Regions from separate parts of the Homo sapiens genome. Here all the other regions are linked to region 1. Evidence: promoter capture Hi-C in 16 types of primary human blood cells and fetal thymus (Javierre and others, 2016). All regions are on one chromosome and are shown on one strand. Each heading gives the region's core, a stretch centred on a gene start or on the middle of the fragment in contact. The rest is flanking DNA. Distances are from core to core; before and after follow the strand shown.

Region 1 (2,993 bases), core at 223-2,722:
TTGGAGTCCCCAAGTCTGTGATGGTGATGGTGATGTTGTACTCGGCTCTGGTCTCTCTGTCCAGCGCCCCTTCTGTTACCAGCCTGTAGAAATTCTCAACAGAAGGTTTTAGCTTAAAAGGAACATCATCCTGAATTGAGCAAATCATTTTTCCATTTTCCCCAGAGTCTCGGTCTCTAATCCTAAACAGGGCCACTTCTGTCTCTGGAGAATTCTCGGGAATAGGGCTGGTAAGTGATGAAATACTTAGTTCCGGGAAGTTATCGTTAACATCCAGCACCTTAACAGAGACAGAGCATTTTCCAGAAAGTCCCCCGCCATCAGATGCCTCTATATCTAGATCATACGAAGACATTGTCTCAAAATCTAGTTTTTTAATTAGTCGAATTTCTCCTGAAAGGCTGCTTAGCTCAAAAGGTTTGTCTATCTCCTGAGAGCTGTAATAAAGGGAGTATGATATCTCTCCATTTGTCCCAGTGTCTAAATCCCTAGCAGAGACCTTGACAACTAGGGAGCCTACTGGGCTGTTCTCTGGGACCTGCACCTCGTAGAGCGCCTGCACAAACTCCGGGGCATTGTCATTGGCGTCCAAGACCAAGATGAGGATCTGGACGGTGCCAGATCGGGGTGGAGAGCCACCGTCCACCGCTGTCAAGGTTAATCTGAGCTCGGCCTGCTCCTCGCGATCCAGTTCTGTGTCCAGCACCAGCTCTGGGTATTTCCTGCCATCCCCTCGGGTGCGAGTGGAAACATGGAAATGAGAATTGGGAGAAATATTGTAGTTTTGAACATTATTGCTGCCCACGTCCAAGTCCCGAGCTTTTTTCAGAGGAAACACAGTCCCAAGGGAGCTAGTTTCTGGGATTTTCAGGGTCATTTCTCTTTCAGGAAACTCAGGAGAATGATCGTTTATGTCTGTCACTAGTAGTTCAGCTCGAAATACTTCCAAAGGTTTTTTCAGTAACACTTGGAAATGCATTATACAGGGCTCAGTAGGGCCACACAGCTTCTCCCGGTCCAGCTTCTCATTTAATATCAACTGCCCGGTCTGCAGATCAAGCTGCAAGCCTTGTTCGTTATCCTCAGAAACTACCCGGGCTCCCCGCTCGGCTAGCTCCCCCACTCCCAGCCCTAGGTCATTGGCCAGGTTGGCTACAAAAGAACCTCTCTCTGTTTCCTCCATCACAGAATAGCGACGGGGTTCCCAGCCTGCCAGAGTCACTTCCAGTAAAAGAAGGAGAATCAGGACTTGCCTTTGTTCGGGAAAGCGCTCCCCTGCAGGCTCCATCTTTACTTCTGTACACGCCCCTTTCAAGGAACCGGAGTCAGAGCTACTTCAGGGAGCGATGGGACAGAGGCAGTGATCGATCTGTGCGTTGATAACCTGTTCGGAAATGTAGGAGAATAGCATTCTCCGGAGACACTGGTCCGTGCTCTGCTAACAGGCTTTCCTCTTAGGCTGAAAGAGGTCTGAAGTAGCTAGTAGCATTTCATGGGCTTTTTCCTTTTCCTTTTTTTGAAGCCTTAGCCTGCAGCGCCACCATGCGTTGTCTTTGCTTCGAAACGAATTGCTACAATTGATCTATTCTCTATTCTATTAGGAGTTTGGAAATTGGGAGGAAATGATGTAATCACAATATCACGCAATGGTAATTATTAATTTCTTCATTTAAAGGAGTATTATTGGTCTCTATGTGCCAAATTATGAAATACATCAGTAAACAACCCAGACATGGTCCCCACCCTCCAGAGCCTGTAGTCTGGGTGTAGTGTTCTGAGGGAAATTGAGAAGTGAAAGAAGACATAATAGTGATCAGTCATCTTGTAATAATAATAACATAAAGCCACGTGATTTCTTAAAAATTTATCAGCAAAACAAAATGAATTCTTTAATTTCTTTCAAATTCTAGACAGCCTATGTACCAGAATTGTGCTCCCATTGGTTGGATTACATCAAGAAAAAGCTACACGTTAATTCCAGTGTGGTATCCTTTCTACATAAAGTCAGAGAGTTATGATTTTATGAAAATTTTAAACTGTGGAAAAATACATATGAAGGCACTTCCTATATCTCTTACTTTGCTTTTTCTTTTTTTTCTTTTCATTTTTCCTTTTTTTTTTTTTGAGATGGGGTCTTGCTCTGTTGTCCAGGAGGGAGTGCAGTGGCACAATCACTGCTCATTGCAGCCTTGACTACCCAGGCTCAAGCAATCCCCCCACCTCAGCAACTGTAGCTGGGACCACAGTTGCGCATCACCATGCCTGGCTAATGTTTTAATTATTTGTAAAGATGAGGTCTTGCTATGTTGCCCGGGCTGGTCTCAAATTTCCGAGCTCAAGCAATCCTCCTGCCTCAGCCTCCCAAAGTGCTGGGGTTATAGGCATGAGCTGCTGTACCCAGCCCTGCCTTGTCTCTCTCGTATTTATTATCTGACGTAGTATAGATGTACTTATTTAGTTGTTTCCTTTCTGTTTCAACCTCACATGTTAGAACTTCATTTTGTTCACTGCTGCATCCCCAATATCTAAAATAATCCCTGGCACATGGTACGTGCTCAATAAATATTTGTTAAATGGATCCATTAATAAATCACAATTAATTTAAACATTCTGACAGATAGGTTCTCCTCCTACTGTAGAAATTCCCTCTTCTTCTGGGATTCAAGTTCATTATATAAGATGGATAAACAAAGACAACATGTTCATAAGGTAGCTATTTCCTATGCCCTTTAAATAGTAATGTGAAATAACTCAGAATGACCTAAAATGTCATTTCATTAAGTGGCAAAACAACTTAGCTACCCATAAGCAAGGGATATATTATATGACAGAAAGAAAGAACATAACAAGATTATGATGACCCTAAAGATAAGGATTATGTCTCTTTTAGACACACATTTTTCATTGTCAAGGTTTTTTTTTTACAGTAATGTTATTATGACACTTACGATATTCAAAACTCTTATATAATAAAATGTTCTAAGAATTTCTAT
Region 2 (2,993 bases), core at 140-2,639, 240 kb before region 1:
TCGATCCAAGGGTCCAGCAGTCACCAGGGAGAACTGGTTCCTGAAGGCAGACTTGAGGGCAAATGGCAAGTGGTCAGGAATGCGGAGGCTCACATCTCCGTTTGACCCTGAGTCTGGATCCTGCACACTGATAAGTGCCACCACAGTGCCAGGTTCTGCACTCTCGGGGAGGGTTCCAAGCTCTGAGGTCACTGTGATGTAAGGGGCATTGTCATTTACGTCCAGCAGATCCACTCGAAGGCTGCAATGTTGCTCCATGGCTGGAGAACCCCCATCGCGAGCCCGCACATCAAATTCATAGTAATTCTCACTCTCAAAGTCTAGGGGCCCCAAAAGAGTAAGCTTTCCAGTAGTGGGGTGCAGGCTAAAGAGGTTTCTTACACGATCAGGGGTATGACCACTGAAATAAAAGGTGACGTTACCACTGGGACCCAGGTCCGGGTCTGAGGCATTGAGCTGGATGAGCACCATGCCCGCTGGTGCGCTCTCCAACACACTAATCCTGTAGCTGGATTGCTGGAAGGCTGGGGCGTTGTCGTTTACGTCCAGCACGGATACCCGGAGCTCTGCGGTGCCAGATCTCGGCGGGTTCCCTCCATCGACAGCAGTCAGCACCAGGCGGTAGTCCGATTGCTTCTCTCGATCCAAAGGCTTCTCCAGGAGCAGCTCTGGGACCAGGCTGCCGTCGCTGCGCTTCTTCACATCCAGTGCAAAGTGTTCATTGGAGCTCAGCCTATAGCTGCTAATCGAATTGCTCCCCACATCTGCATCCTGAGCCTTTTCCAACGGGAAACGCTGTCCTGGAGGAGCTGCCTCCCCAATTTCCAAGTCCAGCTGCTGCCGCGGAAAACGGGGGGCGTGATCATTCACATCTACGATCTCTACCTCTGCTCGGTACATTTCCAAAGGACCTTCGGTGACAAACTCCAGGGGCACGATGCAGCTGGCACTGAGCCCACACAGTGCCTCTCGGTCGATTGGGTTCTTGATGAGCAGGGCTCCGCTGTCCAAATCCACACGGAAGTGTCTTTGGTTCACCTCTCCAGCGACCTGCAGCCTGCGAGCTGACAGACTGTCCGTATCCAGCAGGAAATCTTGAGCGACATTCCCTACAAAAGTCCCTTCCTGTGACTCCTCTGGGACCGGGTAGCGGATCTGCCCACAAACGTAACCCAGGTGGTAAAAGAGGAACAAAAGGGTAGCCCACCGCCAGATTTCTGTCCAGCTTCTCACCTTGCGGAGCATTGCTGCCGCCCGCTAATTCTCTACTTGCTCCTGAGACGCGGATGAAGCCGACCCGCCCCAAACAGCCACAGCAGCTGGAGACACCTATCTCCCTTTCCCCGCGCCAGCTCTGGCGCGGTTCGGCCGGCGCCGCAAGGGTTACGCGCCGTTTTTGCTGGTGGCGGGGTAGATTTGTCTGCCTTTCACCACCCGATTGGCAGACAGCGGCTCCCGGGCTCAGCCAATAGGCTGAGCAGAGAACGTCCCAACAGCAGCAGGGTTAATGCGTCGCAGCATTGGAGGGGAAAAAGCCCACCCTATCCTCCACGCTCCCCCACCCCCCAAAAAACCCAGCCTATCTTTTCGCCTTCCTCCCGCTCAACGGCATGTTTTTCCACGGGTTGTTATCTCTGTGGGGAGGCAGACAACATATATATATATATACATTTTTTTTCCTAACACACCGACTGACCCCGCCCCTTTTCGGCGGGGAAAACAGCCACAGCCTGAGCCCTAGCAACCTGCGGCCCACTGAGAGGGAGAGTAGCCATTGGAGAGTGGTCACTTTGTTCAAGCCAGTGTTGTCATCAACCAGTATTCTAAATGAGTAGCTTCCGTCTCAGTCTGATTGTATTGGAGCAACTGCTAATTAGAACCACTGCCATATACTCAAAACTCTGCCCTTCTGCAGAATATTCAGAAACGGATCCATCTCTTTGCAGAAAAGGCTTACACATTAACGTAGCCAATTAAATTTATGCAGTACATGTTCTCATTGTAACAGGAGACACAGCGGAAACCAAACCTTTCTTATTCAGACATTTGCTAGTGATACACTAGATACACTAAATTACCATTCATTGATTTCAAGGACAGTATGGAAGCGGGGTGGAGGAAGCCAGGAGAGGGAGATGTTTCAAAACAGTAAAGAATCAGTGTGTCTGGGAGGTGCTAAGGACCAGATCTCTTTACCTGGCAGAATGCTAATGTTCATAGATTTAATAGCTTCCTTGAATGATTGAGATCAGCTACCAACAGCATTGTGCCTACAAATTCCCTTTATCTGACACCAAGGTATTCTTGATCTTTTGTTAATTACCAACGAAGACCATTTCAAAAGAGCAAGCTTTTCACTTAGCCCCAGGGGACCTCTTGGAGCTGGAGACTTGATCTCACCCCACCCCCACCCTCATCCAGACCTCCCAGCAACCTAGCTACTCCCTTGCACAAGCACAGAAACACAACACAATTCACACCGTAGGTACCTACGACCTGCAATCTGAGTGGGAAACACACCAGAGCTCAGAGAAATAGAAAAATCCATCCTGATCTGGACATGAAATTTCTTAATTCAACCAAGTCCTTACCTAGGTTACACTGGCTGCCAAAAAAAGCAGCAACAACTGGAGTTCTTATCCTTCCCCAATATTTTTCCAAGCCTCGATCCTCAGGAATATCCTTTTGACTATGGTGGGAACCAATATTCTGGTGTCAAAAAGAGGAATCTGGCTTTCTGTGTTCTTTTACACACACACACACACACACAAACACACACCCCTCTATACCTTCTCCCATGGGAATGATGGAGGTGTAAACCAGCCTGACCTATTAGGTGTTTATGCCAGAATTCACTGTCTCTGTGAATGGCACTGTCAACCACCCAGCTTCCTTAGTCAGGATCTAGGGGGATCAGCCTTGACTCATCCCTGTCCCTCACTTCCTATATCATGTCAATCAACAAGTCCTGATGATTTTATTGTAGTCAGCTC
Region 3 (2,993 bases), core at 1-2,500, 180 kb before region 1:
CCAAGAAACATCACAGGAAAAAAATTTATTCCTCAATTAAAATATCTCAATGACAGCAGTATCATAATACCCACTTTTCACACGTGTGTGTGTGTGTGTGTGTGTGTGTGTGTGTGTGTATAAACAATGTCTCCGGGCCGGGTGCAGTGGCTCACGCCTATAATCCCAGCACTTTGGGAGGCCGAGGCGGGCAGATCACGAGGTCAGGAAATCGAGACCATCCTGGCTAACACGGTGAAACCCCGTCTGTACTAAAAATGCAAAAAATTAGCCGGGCGTGGTGGCGGGCGCCTGTAGTCCCAGCTACCCGGGAGGCTGAGGCGGGAGAATGGCCAGAACCCGGAAGGCAGAGCTTGCAGTGAGCCGAGATCATGCCACTGCACTCCAGCCTGGACCACAGAGCGAGACTCCGTCCAAAAAAAAAAAAAGTCTCCCGTAAAAATGGTGAAAATGTTTCAAAAATACATGAAAGCTAATAATGAAGTTACTGGCCCACACAGAAAGGAACAGGAAATATTAAGAGTGGGCAAACAAACCTGAAGCAATAGTAGATATAATATGTTTAAGATTTTCTTGCCAAAATATTGGTTTGAAAATTAAACCTCATCCATTTGTAAATGAAAGACATTCATTGGAACTCACGTGAGTAGGAGCAACAGAGTTAGAGCTTATCTTGTTATTCTCTTCAGTGAAGCTTGCTACCAGAGAAACTTCATTAGAAAGATCTTGTGGGGGGACTGTTTCTGGTGTCATGGTGAGAAAATTAAATCTTCTTTTTCTAGAATCCGAGGGAACATACAGATTGCAGGAATAAAGCAAAGTTCCCTCATTGTAGTTGGGAAAAACCCCTGGTCTAGTCTTAGAACAGAGACCAGGGTGAAAGCAACCCCAGGCAGAGGGGCTGGAAGAGCATCGCAGGTGCAAGGCGACCGCCAAAATCACTGCGAGGAAGAAGAGCATAGAAATCAAGGCCAAGGCCACGACCAGGTAAATCTGCAGCTTTGCTTGGGAATCAGAGGGCACAGGACTGTCACTGAAGTCTGGCAGTGCCTCCTGCAGGCTGTCTGCGAAGACTAGGTGAAGCGTAGCGGCGCAGAGAGCGGCGGCTGTCCTCCGTCACGCACAGCAACCAGCAGGTTCCCGTGTGCAGCCCCAGGCTGAAAAGCCCGGGCTCGATGGCCTGCAGCACGTGGTAGGACAGCCAAGCGTTGTGTCCCGAATCTGCGTCCACCGCCACCACCTTGGTCACCAGGTAGCCGGACTCTGCGGCGCGTGGCACTATATCGAAGAGTGCGGAGCCATCGGGCCCCAGCGCGGGGTACAGCACCCGCGGCACATTGTCATTGAGGTCGCCCACCAACATGCGCCGGCTCATGTTGGCGCTGAGCGCGGGCGAGCCCTGGTCGTGGGCCTGCATCGTGAGCTCGAAGGCGCACAGCTGCTCGTGGTCGAAGGCACGCTGCGCGACCACCACCCCGCTCTGTGCGCTCACGGACACGTAGGACGACAGTGCCCGCAGCTCCAAGTCAGTGGTAACGATGGAGTAGGAGACTTGGCCATTCAGCCCTAGGTCCAGGTCAGAGGCGCTGACTTGTGGGATGGAGGCTCCGGGAAGGTTGTTTTCGGCCACGTGGACCACGTAGGAGACTTGGTGGAAAACCGGAGCATTGTCGTTGACTTCACCAATGCGTAGGGTGAGGCTTGTGCTGGATGAGAGCGGAGGCTTGCCCTTGTCAGTGGCAGTGATGGTGACGTTGTACTCCGGGATCCGCTCCCAATCCAGGGTCCCATCTGTTACAAGCTTATAGTCATTATTGGCGGAAGATTCGATTCTAAAAGGAACTCTTTCGTTTATGAGGCATGTAACCTCCCCATTTTCTCTCGAATCTTTATCATGTGTTTTGAACAGAGTGATCACCGTCCAGGGTTCTGCGTCCTCAGTTACAGAACTGGACACTGAAGTAAAAACCACGTCTGGGGCATTGTCATTCTCATCTAGGATTTCTAGTATAATTTTACATTCGCTGGTCATGCCTCCACCATCCTTAGCTTCTACTCTCATGGTATAACTGCTACGAAATTCGAAGTCTATTAAGTCTTTGGATTTAATTTCCCCATTTTGATGGTCTAGCACAAACATATTTCCAATATCATCTCGTAGGGATTTGAAAGAGTAGGTGATCTCCGCATTGACACCCTCATCCTGGTCAGTGGCTGTCACCTTTAGTACAGAGGTGCCTGGGGGCACATTCTCTCTAAGGCTGACTTTGTATACATCCTGGCTAAAAACTGGGGCATTATCGTTGGCATCAGTGACCTCAATTTGAATTGCAGCAGTGCCAGTTGGGACTGGGTCACCCATGTCCATTGCTTCCAGGACCAGGAGATGAGAGCTCTGTTGCTCCTGGCCCAGGGGCTTCTCCAGCACTAATTCTGGAGCGTTCTTGCCTTTAGTCTTGTCCATCATCAGAGAGAAATGTTCATTAGAACTGAGCTGGTAACTCTGGAGAGAGTGAGGCCCTACATCTGCATCTATAGCAGATTCCAGGCCAAACCGAATGCCTGGAATTGCTAGTTCATTGATTTGTAAAACAATGCTATTTTGGGGAAAATGAGGTGGGTTATCATTTATATCTTCTATCATCACATTTATGTGAAAAACATTTAGAGGATTCTCTGCTACAATCTCTAAGGGTATGACACAGAGGATTTTGAAGACAGTGACTCTCGATCTATTCTGTCACTCACAAGTATGTTCCCATTCTCCGTGTTCACGGTAAAGTATTGTTTCTCTGCACTAACTCTAAGGTTTCAGGTCAATAAATCCTGAACATGCAGCCGCATGTCCTCCGCAAGGTTCCCCACCACGGAGCCCTGGACCGTTTCTTCTGGAATAGAGTAGCGGATCTGCTCCGAGGGTGCCCCGCAGAACAAAGGCAGCAGGAAAGGGAAGAGTGCTTGCCACTGCCGGGTCCTGCTTCTCTGCTTCACCC

What was found. Contacts are between HindIII fragments. The CHiCAGO score rates a contact against its expected background, and 5 or more counts as called.
Region 2: a contact is called between the fragment with the promoter of PCDHGC4 here and the fragment with the promoter of PCDHB15 in region 1, in 3 of 17 cell types (naive B cells, total B cells and total CD4 T cells). The highest score is 6.3, in naive B cells.
Region 3: a fragment that was not itself captured here is called in contact with the fragment with the promoter of PCDHB15 in region 1 in 1 of 17 cell types (fetal thymus); the score reaches 6.4 in fetal thymus.

The regions. Positions count from the first base shown.
Region 1 is chr5:141,243,874-141,246,866 of GRCh38, reverse strand. It overlaps PCDHB15 (protocadherin beta 15), which reads right to left and starts at 1,472. Exons shown (of 1, transcript NM_018935.4): 1 at 1-1,472. The coding sequence starts at 1,288. It also overlaps PCDHB@ and the pseudogene PCDHB19P. The HindIII fragment of the contact is 5,789 bases long and covers 1-2,993 here.
Region 2 is chr5:141,483,426-141,486,418 of GRCh38, reverse strand. It overlaps PCDHGC4 (protocadherin gamma subfamily C, 4), which reads right to left and starts at 1,389. Exons shown (of 4, transcript NM_018928.3): 1 at 1-1,389. The coding sequence starts at 1,245. All of the region lies in intron 1 of PCDHGA1 (protocadherin gamma subfamily A, 1), which reads right to left. The region is part of intron 1 of PCDHGA2 (protocadherin gamma subfamily A, 2); the gene reads right to left. All of the region lies in intron 1 of PCDHGA3 (protocadherin gamma subfamily A, 3), which reads right to left. It also overlaps PCDHGB1, PCDHGA4, PCDHGB2, PCDHGA5, PCDHGB3 and PCDHGA6, and 12 more genes. RefSeq lists a silencer at 1,291-1,518. The HindIII fragment of the contact is 2,008 bases long and covers 345-2,352 here.
Region 3 is chr5:141,426,296-141,429,288 of GRCh38, reverse strand. The region is part of intron 1 of PCDHGA1 (protocadherin gamma subfamily A, 1); the gene reads right to left. All of the region lies in intron 1 of PCDHGA2 (protocadherin gamma subfamily A, 2), which reads right to left. The region is part of intron 1 of PCDHGA3 (protocadherin gamma subfamily A, 3); the gene reads right to left. The region is part of intron 1 of PCDHGB1 (protocadherin gamma subfamily B, 1); the gene reads right to left. It also overlaps PCDHGA4, PCDHGB2, PCDHGA5, PCDHGB3, PCDHGA6 and PCDHGA7, and 10 more genes. Among named protein-coding and RNA genes, the nearest start is that of PCDHGA12, 2.7 kb to the left of the region's middle. The HindIII fragment of the contact is 1,107 bases long and covers 697-1,803 here.